Linked DNA regions of Homo sapiens: all the other regions are linked to region 4. Evidence: promoter capture Hi-C in 16 types of primary human blood cells and fetal thymus (Javierre and others, 2016). All regions are on one chromosome and are shown on one strand. Each heading gives the region's core, a stretch centred on a gene start or on the middle of the fragment in contact. The rest is flanking DNA. Distances are from core to core; before and after follow the strand shown.

Region 1 (2,761 bases), core at 250-2,749, 510 kb before region 4:
TTGGCTCACTGCAAGCTCCGCCTCCCGGGTTCGCGCCATTCTCCTGCCTCAGCCTCCCGAGTAGCTGGGACTACAGGCGCCCGCCACCACGCCTGGCTAATTGTTTGTATTTTTTTAGTAGAGACGGGGTTTCACCACGTTAGCCAGGATGGTCTCAATCTCCTGACCTTGTGATCTGCCCACCTCGGCCTCCCAAAGTGCTGGGATTACAGGCGTGACCACCGCGCCTGGCCGACATGATCCAGTTTTTATAACAACCATGCAGGGCAGTCTTTGACAGTTTTTGTTTTGTTTTGTTTTTTGAGATGGAGTCTCACTCTGCCGCGTAGGCTGGAGTGCAGTGGTGTGATCTCAGCTCACTGCAACCTCTGCCTACCAGGTTGAAGTGATTCTCCTGCCTCAGCCTCCAGAGTAGCTGGGACTACAGGCATGTGCCACCACGCCTGGCTGATTTTTTTTGTATTTTTAGTAGAGACGGTGTTTCACCATGTTGGTCAGGCTGGTCTTGAACTCCTGACTTCAAATGATCCACCTGCCTCCACTTCCCAAAGTGCTGGGATTACAGGAGTGAACCACTGTGCCCCGCCAGGTCATTGACAGTTCTAAGACTTAGACCCAGAACTTTTAGGTCACCAAGCCTGTGCTTTGTCCTATCCATGAATGCAGAACTTTGATGACAGAGCTGGGGTGAGAACTGTTCCTTCAGTGCTGTTGTAAGCTCATTGTGAAGTCAGAGCTTTGGAAATGTGTACTGATGGGCAGTGTGTGACAGGGACAAGAATGCAGTGGCTGGGATGGAATTCTAGGGGGAGCAGGGATGCTTGGCCTCTGGTCTCTCACATCTCAAACTAATCCTTTTGGTGATGATTTATCCCGAGGTCCATTCCTCCTGCCTGCTCTCTAGGAAGATGAAAATGCTACATGGCTCTTTTTGAATCTGTTCTTGGTTCCATTCCTTGGCTACGATTTTACCTCTTCCTTGTATAAATTTGAATTTAAAAGAGAAAACAAGTAAAAAAATACACATCTTTACACCTAGCCCATCATCATTGTCTGTTTCTCTTACAGATAAAGCTTCATATACCTAAGTCTGCATTTTTCTTCTTTTTGCAGTTTGGGATATGAGATTGAAAATGACGACTCGGAATTTTCCTGAGAGAGAAGTACCCTGTGATGTAGAAGTGGAAAGATTCACAAGGGAAGTTCCCTGCTTGTCCAGTTTAGGTGATGGTTGGGACTGTGAGAACCAGGAGGGACACTTGAGGCAATCAGCTTTAACTCTGGAGAAACCAGGGACTCAGGAAGCAATTTGTGAATATCCTGGTTTTGGGGAGCATTTGATTGCAAGCTCAGACCTTCCACCGTCTCAGAGAGTTCTGGCAACAAATGGTTTCCATGCACCTGACTCAAATGTTAGTGGTCTGGATTGTGACCCCGCCTTACCCAGCTATCCTAAAAGTTATGCAGATAAGAGAACTGGTGACAGTGATGCCTGTGGAAAAGGCTTCAACCATTCCATGGAAGTTATTCATGGAAGAAATCCAGTGAGAGAGAAGCCCTACAAATACCCTGAAAGTGTTAAGTCTTTTAATCATTTTACCTCTCTTGGTCATCAGAAAATAATGAAAAGAGGCAAGAAATCGTATGAAGGTAAGAATTTTGAGAACATCTTTACTCTGAGCTCATCGCTTAATGAAAACCAGAGAAATCTCCCTGGAGAGAAACAATATAGATGTACTGAATGTGGCAAATGCTTCAAACGGAACTCTTCTCTTGTTTTGCATCACCGAACTCACACCGGAGAGAAGCCTTATACTTGTAATGAGTGTGGAAAGTCCTTCTCCAAGAACTACAACCTGATTGTGCATCAAAGAATCCACACAGGAGAGAAGCCCTATGAATGCAGTAAATGTGGGAAAGCTTTCAGTGATGGCTCAGCTCTGACACAGCACCAGAGAATTCACACAGGCGAGAAACCTTATGAATGCCTAGAGTGTGGAAAAACCTTCAACCGAAATTCATCCTTAATTTTGCACCAAAGAACTCATACAGGGGAAAAACCATATAGATGTAACGAATGTGGGAAACCCTTCACTGACATCTCCCACCTTACAGTGCATCTCAGAATCCACACCGGTGAGAAGCCCTATGAGTGTAGCAAATGTGGAAAGGCTTTCCGGGACGGCTCGTACCTCACCCAGCATGAGAGGACTCACACTGGAGAAAAGCCCTTTGAGTGTGCAGAGTGCGGGAAATCCTTCAACAGAAACTCTCACCTCATTGTGCATCAAAAGATCCATTCTGGGGAGAAACCCTATGAATGTAAAGAATGTGGCAAGACTTTCATCGAGAGTGCGTACCTCATCAGGCATCAGAGGATTCATACTGGCGAGAAGCCCTATGGCTGCAACCAGTGTCAGAAACTTTTCAGGAATATCGCTGGCCTCATTAGGCACCAGAGGACTCATACTGGTGAGAAGCCCTATGAGTGTAATCAGTGTGGCAAAGCCTTCAGGGACAGCTCCTGTCTGACCAAGCACCAGAGAATTCACACTAAGGAGACCCCATATCAGTGTCCAGAATGTGGGAAGTCCTTCAAGCAGAACTCTCACCTGGCAGTACATCAGAGACTCCATAGCAGGGAGGGTCCCAGCCGGTGTCCTCAGTGTGGAAAAATGTTCCAAAAGAGCTCATCCCTTGTTCGACATCAAAGAGCACACCTGGGAGAGCAACCCATGGAAACATAATGGTTGGGGGCCAC
Region 2 (2,709 bases), core at 32-2,531, 940 kb after region 4:
AGAGAAACATATTTTTTCAGGAAAAACAAACTTTAAAAAAAAAAGAGGAGAAATAAAACCTTTTCTCCCCTTTCCCCATCCTCTATCTATCCCTGTTTCCCAGGAACAAATCAAAAGGTGGATTATCTTCTGAAGAATGGAAACTGTTAGTCCAGAATGATGTCTTTTTCTCAATGCAGTGAGTTATAGATTCTCTAGTTTTCTCCCTAGGGATGGGAAGGGGGCATTGACGCAAGCCTGGAGAGGAGCCCGGGGAGCAGGGTCATGAAGTTTTTTCTTCAGTGAAGGAGGAATACAATCAAGGGTTTTGTATTCAGAATGTTGTGCAATATTTTGGAATAGGACATTGGTGTGTTTAGAGATTTTAGTTTAAAAACAAAACAAAAAGATTGATCAAATCTGTACAGTTTCTATTGTTCCAGATTTTTTAAAGTTTGTATTAAAAGCATGATACATAATAAAAATAAATAAATAAATAAAACTAAAAAGTAAAATGAAATTCTTCATCTATGTTAATGGATTTGCCACCTTCTTTGCCATAGACTGGAATGACATCAGCTACCTGAGACCAAAATAAAAGTGTGGGTTGCAAACCCTGGCACCTACCTTTTTAGATTCCGCAGCCTGCAGTAGGGACTTAGCCTGTCTGAACCTCAGCTTCCTTCTTTCTTCTTCTTTTTTTTTGAGACGAAGTCTCGCTCTGTCACCCAGGCTGGAGTGCAGTGGTGCGATCTCAGCTCACTGCAACCCTCGCCTCCCAGGTTCAAGCCATTCTCCCGCCTCAGCCTTCCAAGTAGCTGGAAGTGCATGCCACCATGCTCGGCTAATTTTTGTATTTTTAGTAGAGACGGGGGTTTCGCCATATTGGCCAGGCTGGTCTCGAACTCCTGACCTCAGGTGATCCACCCGCCTCGGCCTCCCTAAGCGCTGGGATGACAGGTGCCCGGACTCAAGTTCCTTCTTTCTAAGCCTGTGGGCTCGGCCTCATCCCCTGAGCAAGAAAAAAGTCCCACCCCTGAGTTACTGGAAGCGCCCACCGCCATGCACTGAGGCTGTAGTGGGCGGGGCTCGGGGCAGCAGCCCGGCGCTCCTCGGGCCCCCAGGGGTCAGCGCCCTGCGGACCTAGCGTGTGCAGACGCTTAGCCTTCTGGGAGTTGTAGTTTCGATGACCCAGGCTTTGCAAGCTTTAGTCGCGGTGCCGGCGAGCGCGCAGCGCCCCCTGGGAGTCGTAGTTCCTAAGAACCAGGCGGGCCCGATGCGCAGGCGCAGTCCACCCCGGCCTGGTGCGCGGGCTCCTCCGCAGCAGCAGAAGTCTTGACCTTAGCTCGTCTAAGGAAGGAGGCACCAGGGTCTGCGTTGGCCCAGGAGGACCCGAGACTGAGTAGAAGCGGAGCCGACTGCACCAGGCTAGGAGGGGGCCGGCCAGCGCGTTCGAAGGTGATACCGGGAGGCGAGAGCAACGGTGTGTAGTGTGCGCGTGTTCCTGCAGGTGTGTGACCGCGTGTGAGCCCGTCCCCGAGTGCCATTGTGTCTGCACCTGTTCACTTAGCGGTGTCAGCCCGTATAGGTGTGTGACTGCCTGTGAGCCCGTCCCTGAGTAACACAGCGTCTGCACCTGGTCACTCGACGGTACCAGCAGGTGCAGGTGTGTGACTGCCTGTGAGCCTGTCACTGCATCTGCACCTGCTTACTCGGCGGTGCCAGCCCGTCACTGTGTCTGTACCTGCTCACTTGGCGGTGCCAGGCCGTGCAGGTGTGTGACTGGCTGTGAGCCTGTCCCTGAGTGTCACAGCGTCTGCACCTGCTCACTCGACGGTACCAGCAGGTGCAGGTGTGTGACTGCCTGTGAGCCCGTCCCTGAGTGTCACAGCGTCTGCCCCTGCTCACTTGGCGGTGCCAGCCCATCACTGTGTCTGTACCTGCTCACTCGGCGGTGCCAGGCCTTGCAGGTGTGTGACTGCCTGTGAGCCCGTCCCCGAGTGTCACTGTGTCTGCACCTGCTCACTCAGTGGTGCCAGCCCAGGCAGGTGACTGCAGGTAAAGGCATGTAACACTTTATCGGTGTGTTATGTGCTCGTTCATGTGAAGCGGTGTCTGCATATCACAGCATGTCACATACACGTGTGGCTGCCTTTGGGCAAGTCTGAAAGTTCTCCTGGATGTGAGGTGTGTGACCCCACGTGTGCATGTCTGGGTGTGCCGCCGTGTAGGCTGGCTCGGCCCGTGTGCCTGCCAGCACAATGATGGGTGACCTGGCTGTGCGAGCCTGTAGAGTGCCGTGCTGTCTGAAGTGTGTGCATCTGCACATGATGGAGACGCTGCACATGTGGGCTTTGGCTATGCTGGAGCTCTATCCACCGAGTGTGACTGCACATGTGTCCAGCCATCCCCTGTGGGTGTGTCCCAGTAATGGCCGGCCTGTGTGGAGCAGGTGGCATGTGTGACCTTGTGCGTCTCTGTGCACCTCTTCACACAGGGAGCTACGTGTGGGGCTGGGTGTGTGTGTAGCTACGTGTGCCCGGGACCCTGTGTGCATGTGTGAGTGTGGCTGCAGGTGATGGCTTCCCACCTGCCTCCTTGCATGGGGGTTAGGAGGGCGACTGTGTGTCCCTGGATATGGGTTTGGGTGTCTCTGCATGTCTGTGTGTGTCTGGGCAGGTATGATTGTGTATGACCCTGTGTGTGTCAGAGTGTGATGTAATGCATGTG
Region 3 (2,700 bases), core at 41-2,540, 750 kb before region 4:
GAGCTCGTGGAGGCCGGGTGCAGTGGCTCGGGTCTGTAATCCTAGCACTTTGGGAGGCCAAGGTGGGAGGATCACTTGAGCCCAGAAGTTCAAGACCAGCCTGGGCCATATAGCGAGACCCCGTCTCTAGCTATTCATTTATTTTAGCTTACAGCATCTGGTCTATGTTGTTTTTTGAGACGGAGTCTTGCTCTGTCACCCAGGCTGGAGTGTGCAGTGGCACGACCTCAGCTCACTGTAACTTCTGCCTCCCCGGTTCAAGCGATTCTCCTGCCTCAGCCTCCCGAGTAGCTGGGATTATAGGCACACGCCAACAAGCCTAATTTTTGTATTTTCAGTAGAGACGGGGTTTCACCATGTTGGTCAGGCTGGTCTCGAACTCCTGACCTCGTGATCTGCCCGCCTCGGCCTCCCAAAGTTCTGGGATTACAGGCGTGAGCCACCGCGCCCGGTTTATTTATTTATTTTAGCCAACAGCACTCGGTGTTCCCAGACGGTCTCCCAAGTACTAACCAGGCCCGACCCTGCTTAGCTTCTGAGATCCCGACTCAATTTTTTTTTTTTTTTTTTGAGACGGAGTCTCGTTCTGTCGCCCCAGGCTGGAGTGCAGTGTCGCGATCTCGGCTCACTGCAAGCTCCGCCTCCCAGGTTCAAGCGATTCTCCTGCCTCAGCCTCCCGAGTAGCTGGGACTACAGGCGCCCGCCACCACGCCCGGCTAATTTTTTGTATTTTTAGTAGAGACGGGGTTTCTCCGTGTTAGCCAGGATGGTCTCGATCTCCTGACCTCGTGATCCGCCCGCCTCGACCTCCCAAAGTGCTGGGATTACAGGCGTGAGTCACCGCGCCCGGCCCCCGACTCTATTTTAAAAACCGCGTGGATTCCAGCTTGGTGGGTGTTCCACAGCGCGTGGGTGTGAGACGCAGCTCAGTGGCGTCAACTCAGCAAGGTTCCAGGGTGGTAAAGACGGCCTGGGGCCGGAGGAGGACCGCCAGGGAGAAGCTACGTTGGCCCGACTTGCGTCCGCGACCCGGGCAGCCCCAGGCGCCTGTGTAGCTGTTGGGTGTGTGCCGCAGAGGCTGGCCGGGTGCAGGAAGGGGCGGAGCGCATCCATGGCAACGCAGGACGCCCGAGTAGCTTGGCTGTGGCGCCGTCCCCATGGGAACCAGAAGGCGCGCGCCCGCAGCCGCGGCATAGTTACGCAGGCGCAGTGGGGAGAAACGCGACGCCTTGGGCCGCTCTGCCGAATGCAACCGCGCCCCCAGGAGACCCGGTGCCCGCCCTCCTACCATTCCACGCGGCTCGAGCCCGCGTGCGGGCCTCTTTCAGGCCGCTCCTAGTGGACGCAGAGGCGGGCCGAGGACGGTGAGTGACGCCGACGGACACCCTCGGCCAGGCACAGATCCGCCCTCCGGCTCCAACCACTCCCGCCGCGCGGGGCAGGACGGGCCTCGGCCCTGAGCTGGGCCCTCTGGGACCACCGAGAGATAGGCCTCCGCGCCGTCCAGAGCGGCCCGGAAGTGGCCCTGCACGGGCCAGAGGCGACCGTGGTCGGGACGGAAATGGCTCCCGTTTGCTGTTCTCTCGGTGAACGCGAGCCTTATGGCGATCAGTTCTGTGGCATCGTTCCTCCTGCTCGTTTATTCTTTCACTCATTCACTCATGCCCTGCCGCGCCATCATTTCTTCCCACATTCATTTATTCGTTCATCAGTCCCCAGCCCCGGGTAGTTTCGGAGCTCACCAGGCTGGGCTCGCCTCCCAGCCTCCGGAGCTGCCCGCACAGGCCTCGCGCCACCTGGCCGCAGCTTCCTCCCCTTTATCCACTCCGTATTTGTTTGTCCAGCCTAGGCCTTGGGGGTTGTGGGGGAGACACAAGTACCCGTGACTGGTCGGACAAGTGCCCGTTGTTGGGGGCGTGGGCGCTGGGACTGACGCGGGAGGTGGCTCTGATCATGTCGAGGTGAGGAGGAGGCGTTGAGGCTCAGAAAGGGCACGCAGCGTGGACGTGAGGACGTCGGGGAGGCTGGAGCAGTGAGGCCGACAGGAAGGACCTTACGGGGCTCACATGCTATCCCACGACGAGGACGGACTCAGGACGGCAGCCCTGATAGATGCGGCTGGGGGCTGGCGGGTCGGGGTCGCACACCACAGGATGGAGGGGCAGCGGTGCCTGGCTCCGCCTTAAGAAACATGGGCCCTTGGGGGACCCGGATTTCTGATACTTCAATACACAAATATGGATTTTTATTGAAATCAGATGTCGTTTTTTTAAAATTTAACTTTTGATTTGAGGTAATTATAAATTCACATGCAGTAACAAGTAATGCATACCCTATGTACGCTTTACCCAATTCCCCTAAAGGTGGCATCTTGAAAAACTAGAGGCCAGGTGCGGTGGCTCATGTCTGTAATCCCAGCACTTTGGGAGGCCAAGGCGGGTGGATCCCTTGAGCTCAGGAGTTAAAGACCAGCCTGAGCAACATGGTGAAACCCCATCTGTACTGAAAACACAAAAATTAGGCGGGTGTGGAGGCTGGTGCCTGTAATCCCAGCTACTCGGGAGTCTCAGGCAGGAGAATCGCTTGTACCCAGGAGGCGGAGGTCGCGGTGAGCCCACATCACGCCACTGCACTCCAACCTGGGCAACAGAGCGAGACTCTGTCTCAAAAAAAGAGAAGAGAAAGAAAAACTAGAGTACA
Region 4 (2,700 bases), core at 111-2,610:
TTGTTCAGTGTGCTCTTGGGATCGTGATTAACACAGGCAGCACACTTGCACAGAAGTAAATTGCCTTGCTGAGAAAACTTTTGCCTGAGTGCTGGTTTCACTTTGCAGCACCAAGCATTGACTTCCAACAACACCATCTAGAATGCTTTCACATGCCAGGACCCCTCCTTTCTGGAAGGAATCTTAAGTGTCCACCCCTTCATCCCTGGCCTTCCACCCTAAACCCACCTCTCACTTCAGAGACCACACAAAATAACTTCCTTGAAATTCCACCCTCTAAATCTGATCTACTACAGGCTTTGACCTTATGCCTCACCCATTGAAGTCTCTAGCACAACTCCCTCTCTAGAACCCCAGACCTGCATGTTCAGCTACCCGTGATGAACCTCCAGTGCAGAACACCTTAGATTCACCAAGTCCAAAACCCAATTCCTGATGCCCCTGAAACGTGCTCCCTGCTGTGACTTACCAATTTCCATTCTTTCACACGTTCAGGAAGGAAAACAGGCCAAAAAAACCCTGGATAGCCCTTTCCTCCCTACATTCACTCACGACCACATCTGATGCGGCAGGAAACCCCATTGGTTCCATCTTTAAAAATCTACCCAGAATCTCATGACTTCCCCACCCAACCCCTCCTGCCACTGCTCTGGCCCAGCCACCACCGCAACACTTCTGGAGTTTGTTGCAGGGACCTCCTCAAACGTCTCCTTGCCTCCATCCTCATCGTTTCTACCTCACTGTAGTCGGTTTCCTCCTCAGCAAACATTGGAATACTTTAAAAATCCTTTTTCGGATCCCTTCCCTCCACCATTCAAAACCCGCCATGGCTCCTATCGTCCTCGCAATGAAGGAGCAACTTCTCCCCTCGACATTGCAGGCCTGACTACGGTTCACACACGCTCCCGACTGCTACGGGCTCAGTCCAGCTCCAAACCTATGCTCAGGCTGCCCCTCTGCCAGTCACACTCGCCCCCACCCACCAGCGCCCCGCTGCCTTGGACACTGGGGCCTGCGCTGCAGGGACTCAGACAGGCGCTCCTCATTTGGAACTTCAGGATTTGGGGCGGGCGAAAGTCTGGGAAAGGCAGCACCCACCTGCGCCGGGCCCATCACCGCGGCCGCCGCCATCACAGTTCGTAGACCACCCGGAGCCGCGAGGGGGTCCCAGGTCGCGGGACCCTGGCACCGCGGTCGTCCGTCCCCGGGGGCGCAGGCGGGGTCTTCGCTGGCGAGCCACTCCGCAGAGCGAACAGCGACTTCTCCCGCACCCTCCCGCTTCCGTCACCTCGGAACCGCCCAGCAACCCCGAGCTTCTGCTCCGATGGTTCCACCTAAGAGCCGACAAGATGTCCACCGCGAGGAAGATACCGGAAGTCCCGCCCAGAGAGCTTCCGTCCGCAGGGAGACGCCCCTAAGAGTGCCGCCGCCGGGCGGCGCACAGGTTTCTGGGCAATGCAGTTCTCATGTGCACTTGGCCGTGGTGACGGCTAACTCCCCTGCACGCTGGGCAAAGGCCAAATGGTACTGCGAGGGGCGCTGAGAAATTATGCCCTGAGACTCTGAGGTCAGGGCGTGGCTTCGCTCCTTTTAAAGGACCCTCAACCAGGTCTTGTGTAGTGAGGTCTGCAGGGATCCCCGAAATATTGGGATATATTCTTACAGATGTTCCCTGAAGCCACACCACCAAATGGACACACAACATCCAATGTCACTCTGAGTCCACTCATAGTTCAGTCAAATTTCCTTCATTTAAAAAATATGTGTACTGTAGAGGGAAGCTTTGAGTCAGTTTTGTGAGCCTCAGTTGGGTCAGAGTTAACAGAGAATTGTCCCCAGGCAGGGCCATGGAGTGGAAGAATGGTCTCCAGACAGTGGCTATGGAGGGATGCTGGAGCTCCCTGAGGCAAGTGGACTAATATAGAGCTCTTCCTCTGGTTTCCTCAGAAAAAAAATACCTGAGAGAACCATGAGGAGGAAGACAGGCGAGAGAAGGTGGTCAAGGAAGGCACCTTTCCTGCCTGTATGGTCACTAATGTCCAACCAAAGGAGAAATATTCTTTTATCCAAATGAGAGTTCCTAGCCCAAAAGTTGAGATATATCTATTTCCTTTTGGTGATGTTTCTTATCTGAAAAGAAGAACCATTATAAATGCTTTTATATGCCAAGACAGGGGCTGAAAATGTGGTGTCTGAACCCAGAAATAAAGATTTGGAAAATTGGGATCAGATTTCTTGGCTGGGAGGTGATTCTCATTTCACCTGCAATTACACCGACAGTGTCTGAATTGAGAATTGAGATTTATTTATGGTTTTAAAAAAGAAAAGGGCGAGTGTATGGGGAAAGAAAGACAAAAACATTTGTGAATTGTTTAAATTACTCAAAAGTTGTTTTGTGTTTTTTTTTTTTGAGACGGAGTCTTGCTCAGTCGCCCAGGCTGGAGTGCAGTGGTGCGACCATAGCTCACTGCAGGCTCCGCCTCCCAGGTTCACACTATTCTCCTGCCTCAGCCTCCGGAGTAGCTGGGATTACAGGCGCCTGCCACCATGCCCGGCTAACTTTTTGTATTTTTAGTAGAGATGGGGTTTCACCGTGTTAGCCAGGATGGTCTCGATCTCCTGACCTCGTGATCTGCCCGCCTCAGCCTCCCAAAGTGCTGGGATTACAGGAGAGCCCCCGCGCCCGGCCAAATTACTCAA
Region 5 (2,740 bases), core at 104-2,603, 850 kb before region 4:
AGGAACTCAATCCCTTCCTCCTTTCACCCGGTGTCCCCTTTCTTCCCCTCTCTGTTGCCACCCTCCCCTCCTCAGTTAGGTGCTAGGCTCTTCCCAATAGCCCCAGGCATCCCAGCTGGTCTTCTTTACCCTCAAGCCATAACTGCCCACACCTGGCTGAGTCCCTGCCCATTCCTCAGTCCAATTCATAGGCCCTGTCCACAGCCCAGGACGCCAACAACGTCAGGTCCAGTGACATGACCAACCTGGGACATCCCAGACTCTTGATCTTTCCCCTGAAGGAAACCTGCTTTCCTTTCAATTCTCCTTTCTATCTACAGCAGCTCTCTTCTTCCAGGCGCTCAGGCTGAACAACATGGGGTACTTAGTTCTTCAAACAGCCCACACCTGATGCATCCGCAGATCCACCAGAATTCACCTGGTCGCCCACCTCCACTGCTGCCCAGACTGTGGCAGTCGGTTCTTCCCTTCATGCCGACACCCCTGCATGTCTGTTCTCCACGCAACAAACGGTGGAACCGTTTTAAAGTCCTCAGAGGATGTCCTGATTCTGTTCAAAACTTCTATGTCTCCCGACGCCCTCGAGATAAAGCCCACTCCCTCGCCTGATACTGCAGCCGCACACATCCCCTCTACTCCAGCTCCACATCGAGAGAGCTCAGTCCCAGAAGCACCTGGGCTTCGGCTCCCCTCCCAGGTTTTGCACACGCAGGACTCTCCCCTCGGAGCCTCCTTCGGGACCTCAGCCCCCTGGCTGCCCGAACTCGGGAGCTCACCAGTGCCCTGGACGCAGGAGTTTGCACTGACCCCCGCAACCCCCCCAGGGCAGGGAGAGGAAAGACGACTAGGCGAGGTCTAGGAAGCGGCCTCCCTCCGTGAGGGCGCGGTCTGTGTGAGCAGGGACTCCCCTGCTTCCCCGACGCGGGCTTGTCAGCGCCACCGCCGCCAGCGGAACCCGCAGCTGGGAGGGAAGAAAGGCGTGGACCACCCAGCCTTTCCCCGCCAGCAGCGTCCCGGGGCCGCCCCGCGCCTCAGTCTCCCCGGCCATCATGGACGTGGAACGCCCAGCGCGCAGCCTCCTGGGCTGCCGCACGGTGGGAGAGCGCATGGCTCCCGCCGCGGCCCGACAGTCCCCTGGACGCCCACGACGCACTCTGAGAAACAGAGGCTTGGGGGCGCGGCCGGCGGCCGGCGCCCTTGATCACGACGCGTGCGCAGGGCGGGCCCGACGCGGGCCCTCAGCCAGTACCTTCCTCGCCGCCAGCCTCGAGCACCAGGAACCCCCTGGAAACCGGACCCGACCCGCGGTCCCCAGCCCAGACCACCGGTGTGGCCTGACGCGGGCGGCGAAGTGACAGTCCCACCGCCGGAAGTCCAGCCCTTCGGTTCTCATTGGCCCAGTGCGCGCCGCGGACGCTTGCGTACAGCCTTCCGGGTCACGTGGTTCCCGCCTGTTTCCCTGCGTGGAGGCGGGGCCACTACCGGTCTCCTTGGCAACGTCCAAGCCCCTGCCGCGCGGGGCGCTGGGAAATGGAGTCGCGCGGCGGCCTCGGGTTTTCAAGGGCTTGGTGGCGCTGGTGGATTCGCCCGGTGTGTAGTCCTGCCTTCGGCATTCCAGGTGTCCTCCCAAGCAGTCCCGGAGACTAAACCCTGCAGGTGCGAAAGCAGAAACTGCCGAGGTTCCAAGAGGCAACACCAGCAGTGAGCACGGAGGAGAAAATGCACCGGGTAGCGCAGGTGGAGGTGGAGGAGCCGATGCCTGGAGCTCCGGGTTCCCTTCCCAGCTCTGCCTCTCACTGACTGTGCGTCCTGGGCGCGGGTTTGACCTCTCTGTGTCAATGTCCCGTAAAGGTTTAAGGTCCGTTTTCAACCTTTACACCAAGAATTCTCAGCCCGTAAGCCTACATTTGTCTTAAGTATGAGACTGTTCCTCGACACTTGCCCAAAGCATCTGTTTTCCTTGTAATTTGGATGGGCAGAAGTTAATTCCCCAGATTTGCTTGTCCTTAGACCATCTAGATCTTGTCTTGCCCCACACATCACAATATTCATTCTTTTTTCCTTTTTTCTTGGGACTCATTTAAGTTTTTTTTTTTTTTTTTTAACAGGGTCTTTGTTCTGTTGCCCGTGCTGGAGTGCAGTGGCACAATCTCGGCTCACTGCAACCTCTGCCTTCAGGTTCAAGTGATCCCCCCGCCTCAGCCTCCGTAGTAGCTGGGACCACAGGTGTGCGCCACCATGCCTGGCTAATTTTTGTATTTTTTAGTAGAGATGGAGTTTCACCATGTTGGCCAGGCTGGTCTTGAACTCCTGACCTCAGGTGATCCGCCCACCTCGTTCTCCCAAAGTGCTGGGATTACAGGCCAATTTAAGTGTCTTTGACACATAAAAACGAAAGGCAGAGCAGTCTCAATGTAGACTGTCTTGTTTGGCAGATAATAAAAGGTTCTTTGTCTTGTTTTTGGAACCTGTAGACAGTTCTCAGCTGTCCAGTTCCTTAACTCTTTTTGCCTCCCTCCCTCTATACCTACCTCCATCTATAACTATCTCTCTGTCAACTGTCAGCTATAACTGTCCACCTAATTGATTCTACTTGTAAATCCTTGTAGAGCAAGGGAGCTCATCATGTTTGGAATGTTTTAATATAAATTTTGCTACTTTGAAAGAATTTAAGAACATTTCAGGACTGGGCGCAGTGGCTCACACCTGGAATCTGAGCACTTTGGGTGGCCAAGGTGAG

Evidence for each region. The method cuts DNA at HindIII sites, captures the fragments that hold promoters and counts their contacts. A CHiCAGO score of 5 or more calls a contact.
Region 1: a contact is called between a fragment that was not itself captured here and the fragment with the promoter of ZNF134 in region 4, in 5 of 17 cell types (activated CD4 T cells, total CD8 T cells, naive CD8 T cells and 2 more). The highest score is 6.1, in activated CD4 T cells.
Region 2: the fragment with the promoter of ZNF835 here is called in contact with the fragment with the promoter of ZNF134 in region 4 in 8 of 17 cell types (total CD4 T cells, M1 macrophages, naive CD4 T cells and 5 more); the score reaches 7.1 in total CD4 T cells.
Region 3: the fragment with the promoter of ZNF497 here is called in contact with the fragment with the promoter of ZNF134 in region 4 in 12 of 17 cell types (neutrophils, monocytes, total B cells and 9 more); the score reaches 14.3 in neutrophils.
Region 5: the fragment with the promoter of ZNF324 here is called in contact with the fragment with the promoter of ZNF134 in region 4 in 13 of 17 cell types (neutrophils, total CD4 T cells, activated CD4 T cells and 10 more); the score reaches 15.9 in neutrophils.

What each region holds. Positions count from the first base shown.
Region 1 is chr19:58,127,864-58,130,624 of GRCh38, reverse strand. It overlaps ZNF329 (zinc finger protein 329), which reads left to right. Exons shown (of 4, transcript NM_024620.4): 4 at 1,114-2,761. The coding sequence starts at 1,122. The coding sequence ends at 2,747. Among named protein-coding and RNA genes, the nearest start is that of ZNF329, 22 kb to the left of the region's middle. The HindIII fragment of the contact is 846 bases long and covers 1,077-1,922 here.
Region 2 is chr19:56,670,329-56,673,037 of GRCh38, reverse strand. It overlaps ZNF835 (zinc finger protein 835), which reads left to right and starts at 1,281. Exons shown (of 2, transcript NM_001005850.3): 1 at 1,281-1,462. LOC105372473 (a long non-coding RNA gene) reads right to left here and starts at 1,059. Exons shown (of 4, transcript XR_936110.4): 1 at 607-1,059. The HindIII fragment of the contact is 4,177 bases long and covers 1,187-2,709 here.
Region 3 is chr19:58,361,341-58,364,040 of GRCh38, reverse strand. It overlaps ZNF497 (zinc finger protein 497), which reads left to right and starts at 1,290. Exons shown (of 3, transcript NM_198458.3): 1 at 1,290-1,364. ZNF497-AS1 (ZNF497 antisense RNA 1) reads right to left here and starts at 1,415. Exons shown (of 3, transcript NR_136527.1): 1 at 1,289-1,415. It also overlaps the pseudogene RNA5SP473. RefSeq lists enhancers at 1,596-1,725, 1,455-2,003. The HindIII fragment of the contact is 6,825 bases long and covers 1-2,700 here.
Region 4 is chr19:57,612,902-57,615,601 of GRCh38, reverse strand. ZNF134 (zinc finger protein 134) reads right to left here and starts at 1,360. Exons shown (of 3, transcript NM_003435.5): 1 at 1,099-1,360. RefSeq lists a silencer at 1,106-1,155 and an enhancer at 1,286-1,465. The HindIII fragment of the contact is 2,580 bases long and covers 1-1,783 here.
Region 5 is chr19:58,465,693-58,468,432 of GRCh38, reverse strand. ZNF324 (zinc finger protein 324) reads right to left here and starts at 1,353. Exons shown (of 4, transcript NM_014347.3): 1 at 1,250-1,353. RefSeq lists enhancers at 391-1,005, 1,006-1,622 and silencers at 1,104-1,233, 1,314-1,363. The HindIII fragment of the contact is 6,014 bases long and covers 1-2,740 here.